2 separate regions of the Homo sapiens genome follow, and region 1 is linked to region 2. Evidence: promoter capture Hi-C in 16 types of primary human blood cells and fetal thymus (Javierre and others, 2016). All regions are on one chromosome and are shown on one strand. The core of a region is centred on a gene start or on the middle of the fragment in contact, and the rest is flanking DNA. Distances in the headings are between cores, read along the strand shown.

Evidence for each region. The method cuts DNA at HindIII sites, captures the fragments that hold promoters and counts their contacts. A CHiCAGO score of 5 or more calls a contact.
Region 1: the fragment with the promoter of LINC01562 here is called in contact with the fragment with the promoter of USP24 in region 2 in 1 of 17 cell types (naive CD8 T cells); the score reaches 5.1 in naive CD8 T cells.

What each region holds. Positions count from the first base shown.
Region 1 is chr1:51,232,898-51,239,281 of GRCh38, reverse strand. LINC01562 (long intergenic non-protein coding RNA 1562) reads left to right here and starts at 4,186. Exons shown (of 2, transcript NR_147076.1): 1 at 4,186-4,317. It overlaps RNF11 (ring finger protein 11), which reads right to left and starts at 3,009. Exons shown (of 3, transcript NM_014372.5): 1 at 2,403-3,009. The coding sequence starts at 2,525. RefSeq lists a silencer at 2,745-3,224. The HindIII fragment of the contact is 11,293 bases long and covers 3,337-6,384 here.
Region 2 is chr1:55,212,212-55,218,683 of GRCh38, reverse strand. It overlaps USP24 (ubiquitin specific peptidase 24), which reads left to right and starts at 3,320. Exons shown (of 68, transcript NM_015306.3): 1 at 3,320-3,894. The coding sequence starts at 3,571. It overlaps LOC100507634 (a long non-coding RNA gene), which reads right to left and starts at 3,276. Exons shown (of 1, transcript NR_038320.1): 1 at 1,229-3,276. It overlaps MIR4422HG (MIR4422 host gene), which reads right to left and starts at 823. Exons shown (of 2, transcript NR_146283.1): 1 at 752-823. RefSeq lists silencers at 3,143-3,652, 3,723-3,912 and an enhancer at 4,373-4,432. The HindIII fragment of the contact is 9,819 bases long and covers 1-5,153 here.

The DNA of each region.
Region 1 (6,384 bases), core at 2,937-5,436, 4.0 Mb after region 2:
AGTTCTTCTGGAAAAGGCAAACACAGTTTCCATAAATTCTAGTACCTTTAATAGTACAATTATCATAAGGATAGGAGAAAGAGAACAAGTCAAAGATATTCAATTAAGAAAGGGGATAGGAGGCAGGAGAATTTGCTTGAGGCCAGGAGTTCAAGACCAGCCTAGGCAACATAGGAGTCCCTGTCTCTATTTTTTTAAAAATAGAAGGGGGTGAGGGTAGGGAGCATAAGAGATTTTAAAATAAAAACTTCATGCCAGATGCGGTGGCTCATGCCTGTAATCCTAGCACTTTGGGAGACTGAGGTGGGTGGACTGCTTGAGGTCAGGAGTTCAAGACCAGCCTGACCAACATGGTGAAACCCCGTCTTTACTAAAAATACAAAAATTAGCTAGGTGTGGTGGCACGCGCCTGTAATCCCAGCTACTCAGGAGGCTGAGGCAGGAGAATCGCTAGAACCCGGGAGGTGGAGGTTGCAGTAAGCAGTGAGATTGTGCCACTGCACTCCAGCCGGGGTGACAGAGCGAGACTCCATCTCATTAAAAAAAAAAAGTTAAATAAGCACTTTTGTTGTATAGTAAACATAGGAGGGAAAGACAGTGAAGGATAAACATAGCTTGCTTGCTTCACTCAAAGGTACTTGTAAAGACACCCAGATTCAGCTTTGATTTTTAAGAGACTACCCTGTGACAACTTACTTTGGAAAAAATATTTGTGTAAATACAGAAAATACTAAATTCAACTTCATTAATTAATTCAGCATTTAGGTGCTTATGTGCCAGAAACTGAGCGAGGGGAGAGTCCCTGTTCTCAAGGGCTTTTACTCGTAATTTATCTCCCAGTTACTGAGTCCCTACTGAGGCAGATGCGAGGGATACAACAGCAAACCGGAAACACAGATTCTCTACCTTCACGCAGCTTGCACTGAAGGAGGCGATTACAAGGATGAGACACACATCTAACAAAGATACAACACTAAAGTGTTATAGATATTGCTTATGGAAGTGTAGAGGTTTCAGTGGGGACACAAGGGATTCGGGCTGGGAAGGAAGGGAATGCTGGGACTTCAGACATGAAAGCTGAGTTCTCAAAGAGGATTAGATGTCCACCTGGCTGACCCGGGCGAAGGGCTCCAAGCAGAGAGGAACTGGAGCAAAACAAAGCTGTGAACAGCCTGGTGTATTTGGTAGGCCTGGAATATAGAACGTAAGAGGGAGAAGTCATGGAGGCTTCTGTAATACCACAATCAAGACTGGACCTTACTGGTATATATGAAATGCCCCCAGAAGAATTTTATTCAGAAAACGAGCATATATATGATCAGGTTTTTCTGGTGTGATGAGACATTGGTTTACACAGGAATGAGAAAAGAAAACACTAGATAATGATGTCATCACATGAAACAACAAAGGAGCCTACCCAGTCAGAAAACTAAACTCTTCAGGAAGAAATTAAGCACTACTACTATTGAAGCCCTCTGGAAAAGGGTGTATTCAATATCATCTAAAATGGAAAAAGTACAGGAAAGGTTTTCACACATCTATTGTGGATTATAACATCCACATACCTATTTTGAGTTTAAGAGGTCTTCACTCGAATTCTGCAACACATCTGGGACTACTGATTATTGTACAAAAAGCAGTACAACGTATTTAGGAGAGTCTTTGATACAAAGGGAGAACACGAGTAACCGAAGGAATTTCCCAAGCCAGGTTTAAAGGTTTCCAAAGTTCAAGCTAATCAAGTTTTCTTAAGTCAGCACGTTTAAAAGGTGTGTCATATGGGTGGAGCAAAAAGAGGAGGGATTAAAATTTATATACATATATATATATATATATATACACATATATATATATATACACACACACACAAGTAACTCGATGTCGCTAGGGTTAAAATCACCACTTGGAGATCCGTCTCCCAAGCAGAGGGAAAACCTGCCAGATCCAATTAACAAAAAGACGAGGGAGGTGGGTAAGAGGACGACCACACATGAAAACATAAATGGGGCGGGGGGGTGGTGCTTGGCAACCACCTATCCAGAACCCATAATCCAGTTGGCGGTGCGATGAGGAAATCATACGATTCAGACATAAAGACAGGAAAATGTCACTCCCAAACTCCACAAGCGAACCACCAGACACTGGCCAAGGGGATGTGATCACATACTCTGATCCCAGAACTCAAGGGCAGAGGGTATCATCCCCACACGGTGCCCGAGGGCAGGCGAAGAATCAACCTTACTCTGAGATCAGAGAGCAAATGCCCTCAGATCCAGCCCTAAGGGGTCAATGCCGCCCAGGCCAGGCCTTGCCGAAGCCAGGGGCAGAGACGGCCCCGAAGCCCCCTCAATCTCCGCCAGAGCTGCCTCTACTCGCTCCCCCCAACACACACCCTCCCCTACCTGATATGGCGGCGGCGGCTCCTGATCCGGCTCCGTCCCCTCGCCAAAGCTAGCCCGGTCGGACTGAGACTCGTGAAGCAGGGAGATGTCATCCGAGGTGGGGGATTTGAGGCAGTTCCCCATCTTCCGGAGCTGGGGTGCGTGATCTGGGGGAGGAGAAAGCAGCGGTGGGGTCGTTCGCACACTCCGCGGTCCGCCTCGGTTGGCGAGGTGGGGTCGGGCGACAGGCCGGGGATCAGGCGGAGGCGACTCCACCGCCCCACGGTGCCGCCGAGGGGCCGCTCATGCCAGCCCCCGGGGTTGGGGGATCAAGGCTGGGCCGCGGGCTCCGCTGGGGTCGCGGCGTTCGCCTCCTGCGAGGCAGCGATGGGGGGGGGGGGGCGGGGAGACGAAGCACTTCCCCACCCCGCCCCCCCGCGGGGCGGCGGCGGCCACGGAGCTGCTGGGCCTAATCCAGGTCAGCGGGGGGGGGCGCGGCCGTCGCGGCTGCCTCAGCTGCTGCCTCAGCTGCTGCTGCCCCCGCCGACGCCGGAGCCACGGCCGCGGGCCTCATCCTACTCCGCCTCAGCGAGACGGCGGCAGCCAGAACGAGGCCGGCTCGGGCACTGCGTCATCGCGCCGTGCGTGCTCTGGTCCCGCCCCCGGCGCCAGGAGGCGAGGGCGGCTCCGGCGGCGCCCATCCCCCTCTCCACTAGCAGCTGTTCTCGGTGCTGCGTCAATTTTTGCTTCTCTCTGACTGCTTGGCTCCGTACCTGGCTCCGAAACCAATCTCCCGTCTCCCGCGCCTCCCCACATTCATTGCTCCTGCCCCGTCTAGGGCTCAGTTCTTACCTGTGCACTGCCTGACAGTCTTCTCACCACCCTCCGCCAAGCGGTCTATTTATATAAACCCATATCGGAATGGATCAGTCCCATGATTAAAATGTTAAAAGCTTCCCCTTTATCCCTTCACAATAAAGTCCTAGCTCGTTACTGAACCATCCCTGCCTGTCCAATCACGTCCTTATCCTTCCACATCACAGCCAGAGAGATTATTCTTCCAGTTGTATATCAGATTGTTCATTTCTTTCCAGTCCCAGCACCAAAGTCCAAGCCACCATCATCTCTCACCTTGGCTTCTGCAATAGACTCTCAGCTGTTCCTGAGTTCATCATTGCCCACATCCAATTCACTGTTGGCACAGTTGACAGAGTTATCTTTTTAAAATTTAAATCGGATCATGTCATTCTCCTGTTAAAACCTTCAGTGTCTCCTCAAGGCTGTCCTTAAGACAATCCTTAAATGGTTTACAAATCTGACTCCCTTTCAATCTCATTAGCAGCATTGTCACCTCCTTCACAAATTCTAAACTAGACTCTCTAAAATGCTTTTCGTTATCTGGAATACTATTGCCTCTGCCTGGGGCCTTTGTCCATATTGTTTCTCTCACAGAAACCCACTTCCCTCCACTCCCAACCTTTCTGCTTCTCATCAGGCTAATCATTATTCTCAGGAATCCTTCTGGATGCAACTTCATTTCCCCTGGGGAGACTCTCCTGACCCTCCAGTCTGGGTTAGTCGCATCCTGTGTGCTCTCAGACCCTGAGCTTTTCTCTGTCACAGCCTGATCAAGCTGAATCATCTGTCCCTCTGTGCAAGGCTGGCACACTGCCCAAGGTAGAGTATGCTCTCTCCTTGGTTGAATGAGCAGCTCAAACAACATATGCAAAAGAAGGAAGCAAGAAGGATGACAGTGCTCCTGATAGACGTTCATTCAACAGGTGGATCTTGACTGCCTTTCGTTTCATTCACCATTTACTGAAGTTGTGTGTGCGTGTGTATACCAGACCCCACGCTAAGGACTGGGGAAAAGGATGATCATACCTGGCTTGTTCCTGATAGAGCCCAGAGACCACCTGGGAAGACAAGTAATCAGGTGAGTCCTAAGCCCACACCCTGCCACGGACCCCAAGGTTTTTAGAGGAACTGAAAGACAGCAATTAGTTCATTTGAGTGAGGAACAGAAAGGATTCTTAGAGGTAGGGCTATATTAAACTCGAATGGGTCTGAACACTCTTACTCTGCAGTCCCTATTCTACGAAGTCACTATCTTATTTAAATGCACTCAAATTCCACATTAAATATCACCTTTTTGATATAAAATTTTTGAAAAGACTCATAATTTTGGGCCAGGCGTGGTGGCTTACGTCTGTAATCCCAGCAATTTGGGAGGTCAAGGCGGGTGGATCACTTGAGGTCAGGGATTCGAGAGTAGCCTGGCCAACATGGTGAAACCCCATCTCTACTAAAAATACAAAAACTAGCCAGGTGTGCTGGTGCACGCCTGTAGTCCCAGCTACTCGGGAGGGTGAGGCAGGAAAACCGCTTGAACCTGGGAGGTGGAAGTTGCAGCGCAGTGAGCCCAGATTGTGCCACTGCACTCTAGCGTGGGCGAGGGAGTGAGTAAGACTCAGTCTCAAAAAAAAAAGGAAGGAGAAAGAGAGAGAGAGAGAAGGGAGGCAGGAAGGAAGGAAAGAAGGAAGGGAGAGAAAGAGAAAGAGAAAAGAGAAAGAAAAGAAAGAAAGAAAGAAAAGAAAGAAAGAAAGAAAGAAAGAAAAAGAAAAAGAAAGGAAAGAAGGAAAGAAAGAACAAACTGACTCACAATTTTGGTTTTGGAATTGTTGAGCTTCCAAGAACTCATTTAATTTATGATTGGCTAAATTTACCAGAAATCAGAGGTACCCTGGAATTTTTACAAAGTGAGAAAATTTACCCCACAAATTATTGTCAAACCTAAAGAAATTTTTATTAATAATAATTTATACAATTATTTGACATAATATTTACACAGTGCTAGAATTTGTAGACATTGTTTGTTTGTTTTGGAGACAGGGTCTCACTCTGTCACCCAGGCTGGCTTGATCGAGGCTCACTGCAGCTTCAACCTCCTGGGCTCAGGTGATCCTCCTGCTTCAGGCCTCTCCAGTAACTAGAACTACAGATGCACACCACCATGCCTTGCATTTGTTTTTGTTTTTGGTAGAGACGAAGTCTTGCCATGTTGCCCAGGCTGGTCTCAAACTCCTGGGCGCAAGCGATCCTCCCGCCTCAGCCTCCCAAAGTGCTGGAATTACAGGTGTGAGCCACTGTATGCCTGGCCAGACATAGATTTATTTAGTTAGTTTTAATTTTTTTTAATTTTTATTTTTTGAGACAGAGTTTTGCTTGTGTTGCCCAGGCTAGAGTGCAATGGTGCGATCTTGGCTTACCGCAACCTCTACTTCCCCGGTTCAAGCAATTCTCCTGCCTCAGCCTCCTGAATAGCTGGGATTACAGGCGCGCACCACCACGCCCAACTAATTTTTTGTATTTTTAGTAAAGACGGGGTTTCACTATGTTGGCCAGGCTGGTCTCGAACTCCTGACCTCAGGTGATCCACCCACCTTGGCCTCTCAAAGTGCTGGGATTATAGGCGTGAGCCAGCTCGCCAGGCCAGATTTATTTTTTTAAGTTTTGTTTTTCATTCTTTTTTTCCACAGGTGGGTAACACTGACACAAGCCCTTGAAAAGTTCTATAGTGCCTTGTGAAAATAAGTTATATTGTTAAGTTTAAAACTAGCTTGGGCTGGGTGCAGTGGCTTACGCCTGTAATCTCAGCACTTTGGGAGGCCGAGGCGGGTGGATCACGAGGTCAGGAGTTCAAAACCAGCCTGGCCAATGTGGCGAAACCCCATCTCTACTAAAAATACAAAAATTAGCCGGGCATGGTGGCATGCACCTGTAATCCCAGCTCCTCAGGAGGCTGAGGCAGGAGAATCACTTGAACCTGAGAGGCGGAGGTTGCAGTGAGCCGAGATCACGCCATTGCACTCCAGCCTGGATAACAGAGTGAGACTCCGTCTCAGTAAACAAACAAACAAACAAGGCTAGTTGTTCACCAGAAGATGGGAGGAGCATTTGAAGCCCATTAATGGCTTGGACATGGTCCCTGCCTTCAAATAGC
Region 2 (6,472 bases), core at 2,071-4,570:
AGAAAATACTTTTTTTTTTCAGATTTTGGAGCATTTCAGATTTCAGGTTAGGAATGCTCAATCCATATCTCTCTAGAATTCTATACTCCACTGGCTTTTAATTCCTCCAAATTGCTTTATTCTCACCCACAACAGGACCTTTGCACATGTTGTTCCCGTTCTTTGGAACTTTCTCCCTTCATTTCATATTCCTTTTCCTGGCTTTCCAACCTTACGTCAGATTATAGTTTGAACGTCGTCTTCTCTGGGAAAATTTTCAGTTTTCCTAGACTTGGTAATTACCCCCACAGAGGGCAGAAATTTGCCCCTTATATCCTGAAATTCCCCCATCAAAGCGTCTATCATGCTTTATGACTATTATTTGTCTATTTCCCTTTATTATAGACAGTAAGATCCAAAGGGGTAGAAATTGTGTAATGTTTTTCTCACAATTGTCTCCCTAGTCCTCAGCCTGGCTCAAAGTAGATATTCAATCTATAATTTGAAAACTTACTTATTAACAGTAGAAAACCCTCAGTCTTCAAGATAGTTCATCATACCTTACTTCTCTATGTAGCTATTTTTTTCTTTTCCTTTAGAACCTTTCTAGAGAAAGATGTATGGGAATTGAATGTAATTTAAATTTTTAAAAATCCTCTCAACATTTTCTAGATTTTACTGCAATAAAAATAAAAATGTAAATGAAAAGTATGAATATTCATATCATAGGCCCCACCCCTGCTATCCCAATTCCACAGTTTAAAGTACTCACTTGCTTTCTTCCATGCAAAAAAGTATGATTATACTACTCGCATCCTCAAATGACACTCTGCCTTTTCAGTCACTCCAGGATCCGGTTCCAAAATGGACTTCCTTGTTTTTTGTGGCCTTTTGTGGCTCCTTTCCAGTTTTTATCACAGACTTTGTTTTTCTCTGCTTCCTTCTCTGCTTCCTCTTCTCAGCTAAGCACAGCTTCCTCTGTCATGTTCTATAAACCTGCCACCGTTGATGAGTCTTTTAACGTGCCATCTGATTCAGTCGGCTCTTTCATGACCTTTTAGGTTCTACCTCAAATTTTAGTGGCAAACAATTTTTTTGTTACTTGTTACTTCCTCTCTCCTTGTAATTCATTTCTTAGTAATTAACTCTTCAAACACAGGGCAGAATTGAATGCCCTCACTTTGCCATCATCTAATTTTTGTCTGTGCGAAGAATAGTACCTGGCACCCAGTAAATAGAATCATTTTTATTCTATTTATTAAATTTATTAAATATATTATTTATTGAATAATTATTTATTTATTGAATAAATTTATTCAATTTGTTGAATAAATTCCTCAGCATGTACCTTATGACAGCCTGCTTACATCAGTTTAGATTGCTTTGTTCTTCATATGTCACAGATAAACATTTAAAACTTCATTGTGTACCTGGAAGTTGATACTTAATAAAAATTTTATTTCAATATGTACATTGTGACCCAAACCAATTATAGGCATTCCTTCTTGTCATTGTTGTTCAGAAGTGTGAGGTTTCCTTTTGTTACTTTTAATTAAAAAATTGAGACTTTATTTGCTTTGGATATGAGGCCTAGGCTTTATAATGTCGCCTTTAATGGAAACAACAAATACAGTAACTTCATTTAAAAGTAAACAATAGTGACAAATTCACCCTGTAAATCAAATTGCTGGTATTTATAAACACAGGTGGCAAGTTACTAGGTACGAAGGGTTCGTGGTCCAGGGGAAAATATGCCAGCAGAGTGCAGAGACAATGTCTAGGTACCGGCCCTAATTTAATATTTGGTGTATGTAAAGATCTTCGTGAGTGCTGGGCTGGCAACAGCAGGGGTTTGATGGGATGAAAAAGTAAGGTTAGCTGGATTTCAGGTTCAGGAAGAAACCAGGATGAGGACATTAGAAGATGAACTCAGCAAGTATGTAGGAATAGGCATAGGAGATGAACTCAGCAAGAATGAAGGGATATCCGAATCTTGGGAAAGGGTGGGAAAATAACCTAGAGAACTATGGATTGAAGGAAATTGAAGAGGAAAAATAGCAAGGACTTAGGCCCAGGACGGCTTTGAATGCGGCTCAGCACAAATTCGTAAACTTCTTAAAACATGATGAGATTTTTTAAAAGTTTCATCAGCTACCATTAGCGTTAGAATATTTTATATGTGGTCCAAGACAATTTTTCTCCTTCCAATGTAGCCCAGGGAAGCCAAAAGATTGGACACCCTTGGCTTAGATGGTGGAGTCAAGGGAACTAAAGATATGACCCCAGTGTGCCAATGCCAAAGGTGAGAAGAGAAAGCAAAGAAAGCAGGCCTTTAAAGAGGTAGAGGAATCCTCAAAGGTGGAAAGAAACAGGGATAGGATGCTGCCCAAGAGGCAGGGACAAAGAATCGGAGCCAAAGACTGCGGTAAAAATGTGGGAAGGTGATGTCCACGATGTTCGAACGAGTCCGTGGCCGAAGGAAGTAAGAGTCTGGGTTTCTGGAGGTTTTCATACAGAGAACTGGGATTTAGATTTCGGGCTGGAAAAATATATTTTGGACTCTCAGGGGCTTTCAGGGTAAGAGTTCGGTAGAGTTCAGTCAGCTTGGCGGAGACAGGTAGTCAGTTAATGTTGGAAGGAAAATTCGGACAGCTGGGAATTAATTTCAACGGGTTTAGGGTGATTTCGGCAAGGGCTGGCGGGGCTAGGGTCGAGTGTGAATTTCGTCTTGGGTGGTCCACGCGTCTGGTTTGGGCAGGAATTTCTGTGGGCAGCGAGGCGTATTCAGGCAGCGTTGCGGGTGAATCTGCGTGGGATGAGGGTGGATTTCCTTCAGGACTGCGGTGCATTTCAGGCCGGGGTGGAGGTGCCTCACAGCCGCGGCGCAGGGAATTCCCTCTAGGATGGGGGAGCGGGTCGGGCGGCGCCGGCCAGGGAGGGGAAGTCCAACGGGGGTTCGGAGAGGCTCGGGGGACTCGGACGGAGAGAAGCCGGGTCGCGGCTGCGGAGGCTCGGCCGGCCAAGGGATTTCCGCGACGTTCAGCGCTGCGAGCTGCGCGGCGCTGCGGCCCCTCCCGTCCCGGGGGAACCTGTTGCCGGCGAAACAGGCGGGCGGTGGCGACGATGGAGAAGCCTTCCTCGCCTCTGCCTGGCTGCACGGCAGCCCTTTCACCTTAGGCACGCTCCGCGGCGCGGCCCCTCCCTCCGCTCCTTCGTTTAAAACAAACAGAATACGCCGCCGCCAACCCTAGCCTGCCAACGGCGAGCACGGTCGCCTCCCGTGCCGCTTCCGGGAGCCGAGGCGCGGCCCCGCCGCCCGGGGAGGAGGAGGCGGAGGGGGAGGAGGCCAACATGGCGGCGCGCAGGGCTGGGCCGGGCCGCAGCCGCGCCTGAGCGCCTCACCGCACTAGCTCGGCTCGCAGGACCCAAGCCCGCACCCAGCCTGGCCCGGCTGCTGCGGAGCACCCGGGGCAGGAACGCAGGGGCCAACCTGGGCGCGGAGGCGGCGCGGAGGGTGCGCCGCGCGGCCCGCCAGGCCCGGGACCCGTAGCTTCGCCGTGCGCTGGCCGGGGCGGCCAGGAGGCCCAAGCCATGGAATCGGAGGAGGAGCAGCACATGACCACGCTGCTGTGCATGGGCTTCTCAGACCCCGCCACCATCCGCAAGGCCCTGCGCCTGGCCAAGAACGACATTAACGAGGCCGTGGCACTGCTCACCAACGAGCGGCCGGGCCTCGACTACGGCGGCTACGAGCCCATGGACAGCGGCGGTGGCCCCAGCCCCGGGCCCGGCGGGGGCCCGCGGGGCGACGGCGGAGGTGACGGCGGCGGCGGCGGCCCCTCCCGCGGCGGGAGCACCGGAGGCGGGGGCGGCTTCGACCCCCCGCCCGCCTACCACGAGGTGGTGGACGCGGAGGTGAGGAGGGGCAACCCCAGACCTCTGTGGGAAGCCACTGGGCTGGAGTTCCTGGGAGGGGACACACCCCGCTGGGCTTGGTGTGGGGAGAGAGGGCATTCGACTGGGGCTTTAGTGGGGGCGGGGCGGAGAGAGAGAGAGAAGCCCCAGGCTCCAGTTGGGAACCGAAGTCACTTGATTGGGGGTAAGTGGGGAGAGGGACCCATAGGAGAGGCGTGTGAAAGGGAATTAGGGATGCGCAGCGGAGCTGTGGGTTGGGGTGAGGAGGGGTCCCTTAGGCTTCCGGCTATGCACGCCGACGATGGGGAGGAGGCTCCAGGGCTATCATCCGAGATGGGAGGACAGACACTTGAGCATATAGTGGGAAGGATGCGTGCAGTAGGGGGTCGGAAATGGGGTACTAGTGCACTAGGCTAGGTCGGAGATTTTGTGGCACGAGGTTTCAGTGAAGGATTGGCGGAGGCACCAGGCTCAGAGTCAGAAAAAGCGGTGTGGGCCGGCCAGAGTAGTGGTCTTTGACAGGATCACAGGAAAACTGTTGGGGTTAGGAGTGAGGTTGGGGTTTTAGCCAAGGGTCGGAAAGGGGGGGCATTGAGTAGGATTTAAAATGAAGAGGGAAGGGGCCGCGGCCAGGAATGAGGACTTGAATAAAATCAGGTATGAGAGCAGTGGGGATTGCACTGAGAGGGCAGAGGTGGGAGGCCTGGGCAGGGGTGGGAGCTGAGGAGGGTCTAGGCAGGGATGGGGACTGGAATTGGAAGATAGAGCTGGCACCAGGTCTGGGTAAAGAGGGAGTACTGGTCATCGATAAGGTCAGAAATGAGAGAAAATTAGACCGGGGAAAGAGATGGTAGTCATACTGAGGGTGCTATGCAGAGGGGCGCGGAACAGGGTGGGAGCGCAGTGGGGGTGGAGGAGGAGTCTTGAGGCTAATGGCTTTGATCAGAGACCTCAAGTCTAGGTGGAGAAGACTATGCCTGTTTAGTTTGGGGTGTGAGCAAGGAACGTGGGGGAAGAAAACGGACTCTTCTATAATAAAGAAAAAAGATCGACCAGAAGCAGCAGTGCTTTTGAATAATTACTTTGCAGAAACATAGTAGCTCATGGCAGGAATTTTGGTCAGATTCGTTGGGTAGTTCATTTCAGGGGCCAGTAGAGCAGCTTGGCCTGACCACAGAAAAGCACAGATCTCAAATTATTGGGATTGCGTTATTAGGTAGAGATACGAATTTGGTTCGTTCTTAATGAAGAATTAAGCTTAGTGAAGCTAAGCCTTTTGAAACACTTTTTCCTGAGCAGTGTTATATCCTTTTAATTGTATGCTTTTGCAACAGTTCCTCGGGCTGAAGTAGCTTGAACAAGAAGGTGGCACTTAAAAAGAACAGGTTTCTGCACAAGATTTCTTTGGCTTCCACACTTAGACACAGTTGCTAGATTGCCCTCTGTAACCCACTAACTTAGCTGTATCGTTGACTAGTATATGGAAATAAAGATTGTTACTATTCCTAGTTTGGGAATTTTTTTAAATTCCCATATAATTGAGTAACCATACTTAAGTCATTTTAAGAAATCAGCTTCTCATTGGCAGTTCCTATCACTCCTCCCTCGTTCCTTCTAGTTTTTGACCCAGTTTTGAAATCAAGAAGAAAGCCGTTGCTTTTTCAGAAGGTGTTTGTATAACTCTGCAAAGCTCAGTGTATCCTCATTATGTGAGAAATGTGATTCTTTTTTTCTTTTGTCATACCTTTTAATTTCCTGTGATTGGAAAATCAATTTAAATTACAATGCTTGGTGCATTCATGTTAACATTAGCGCTAACCTTAGCTTACTGCCAGTACATGTAAGTACAAAGAATTGGGAGTGGCTTCTTACGTGAATGGCAGGCTAAGGAGTTTGGTTTGCGGTAAATTAAAATCCATAAAATCTCCATCTTTTCGAAGCAGTGCATCAAGTCCTCATTTCTCCTAGACCTGTGGATTTGGCCTGGGGGAGGGAAGCTGCACCGTTTACTTTTAAGAGTTCAAGAGGAGCTGGTGACTGAGGCTGCTTTACCCACGAAGCGTATTGGCAGAGGTTGGCAGGCTGAGACTTTCCTGACACACAGGAGCCTTTTGGAAACATTTAACGCAGAATGTGCCTCTGTGGTTTAATAATCTTAATGCATGCCACCTATGGAACTTCTTGGTCATCCTTGGTGTACACAGTGGGAAACTGAGGCTCTTGATCTTGGGAAATAGGGAAAGGTAATAAATATTATCCAGCATCTACAGGGTGTCAGGCCCTGTCTTAGGTGCGTTATACAGTTTATTTAACCCTTGGTGAGAGAGTTAACGTAGGCTTTTTAGGGATATGATTATGTAGTGGGTGGCAGGGGCTGAATTTGAACCCAGGTCTCTTTGACTTCAAAGCCAGTGTGCTTTTCACTCTGCTCAACTCATGGTTTTAGGATTAAATTTGTTTGGTAACAGTATGGATAGTAAGGAGAAATAATGAGGGAAAGACATATTTTAAGGCTACTGTGCAATGATGTGGTGAGCACCAACCATTAAGAATCGAATAATGGGTAGAATATAAGGTG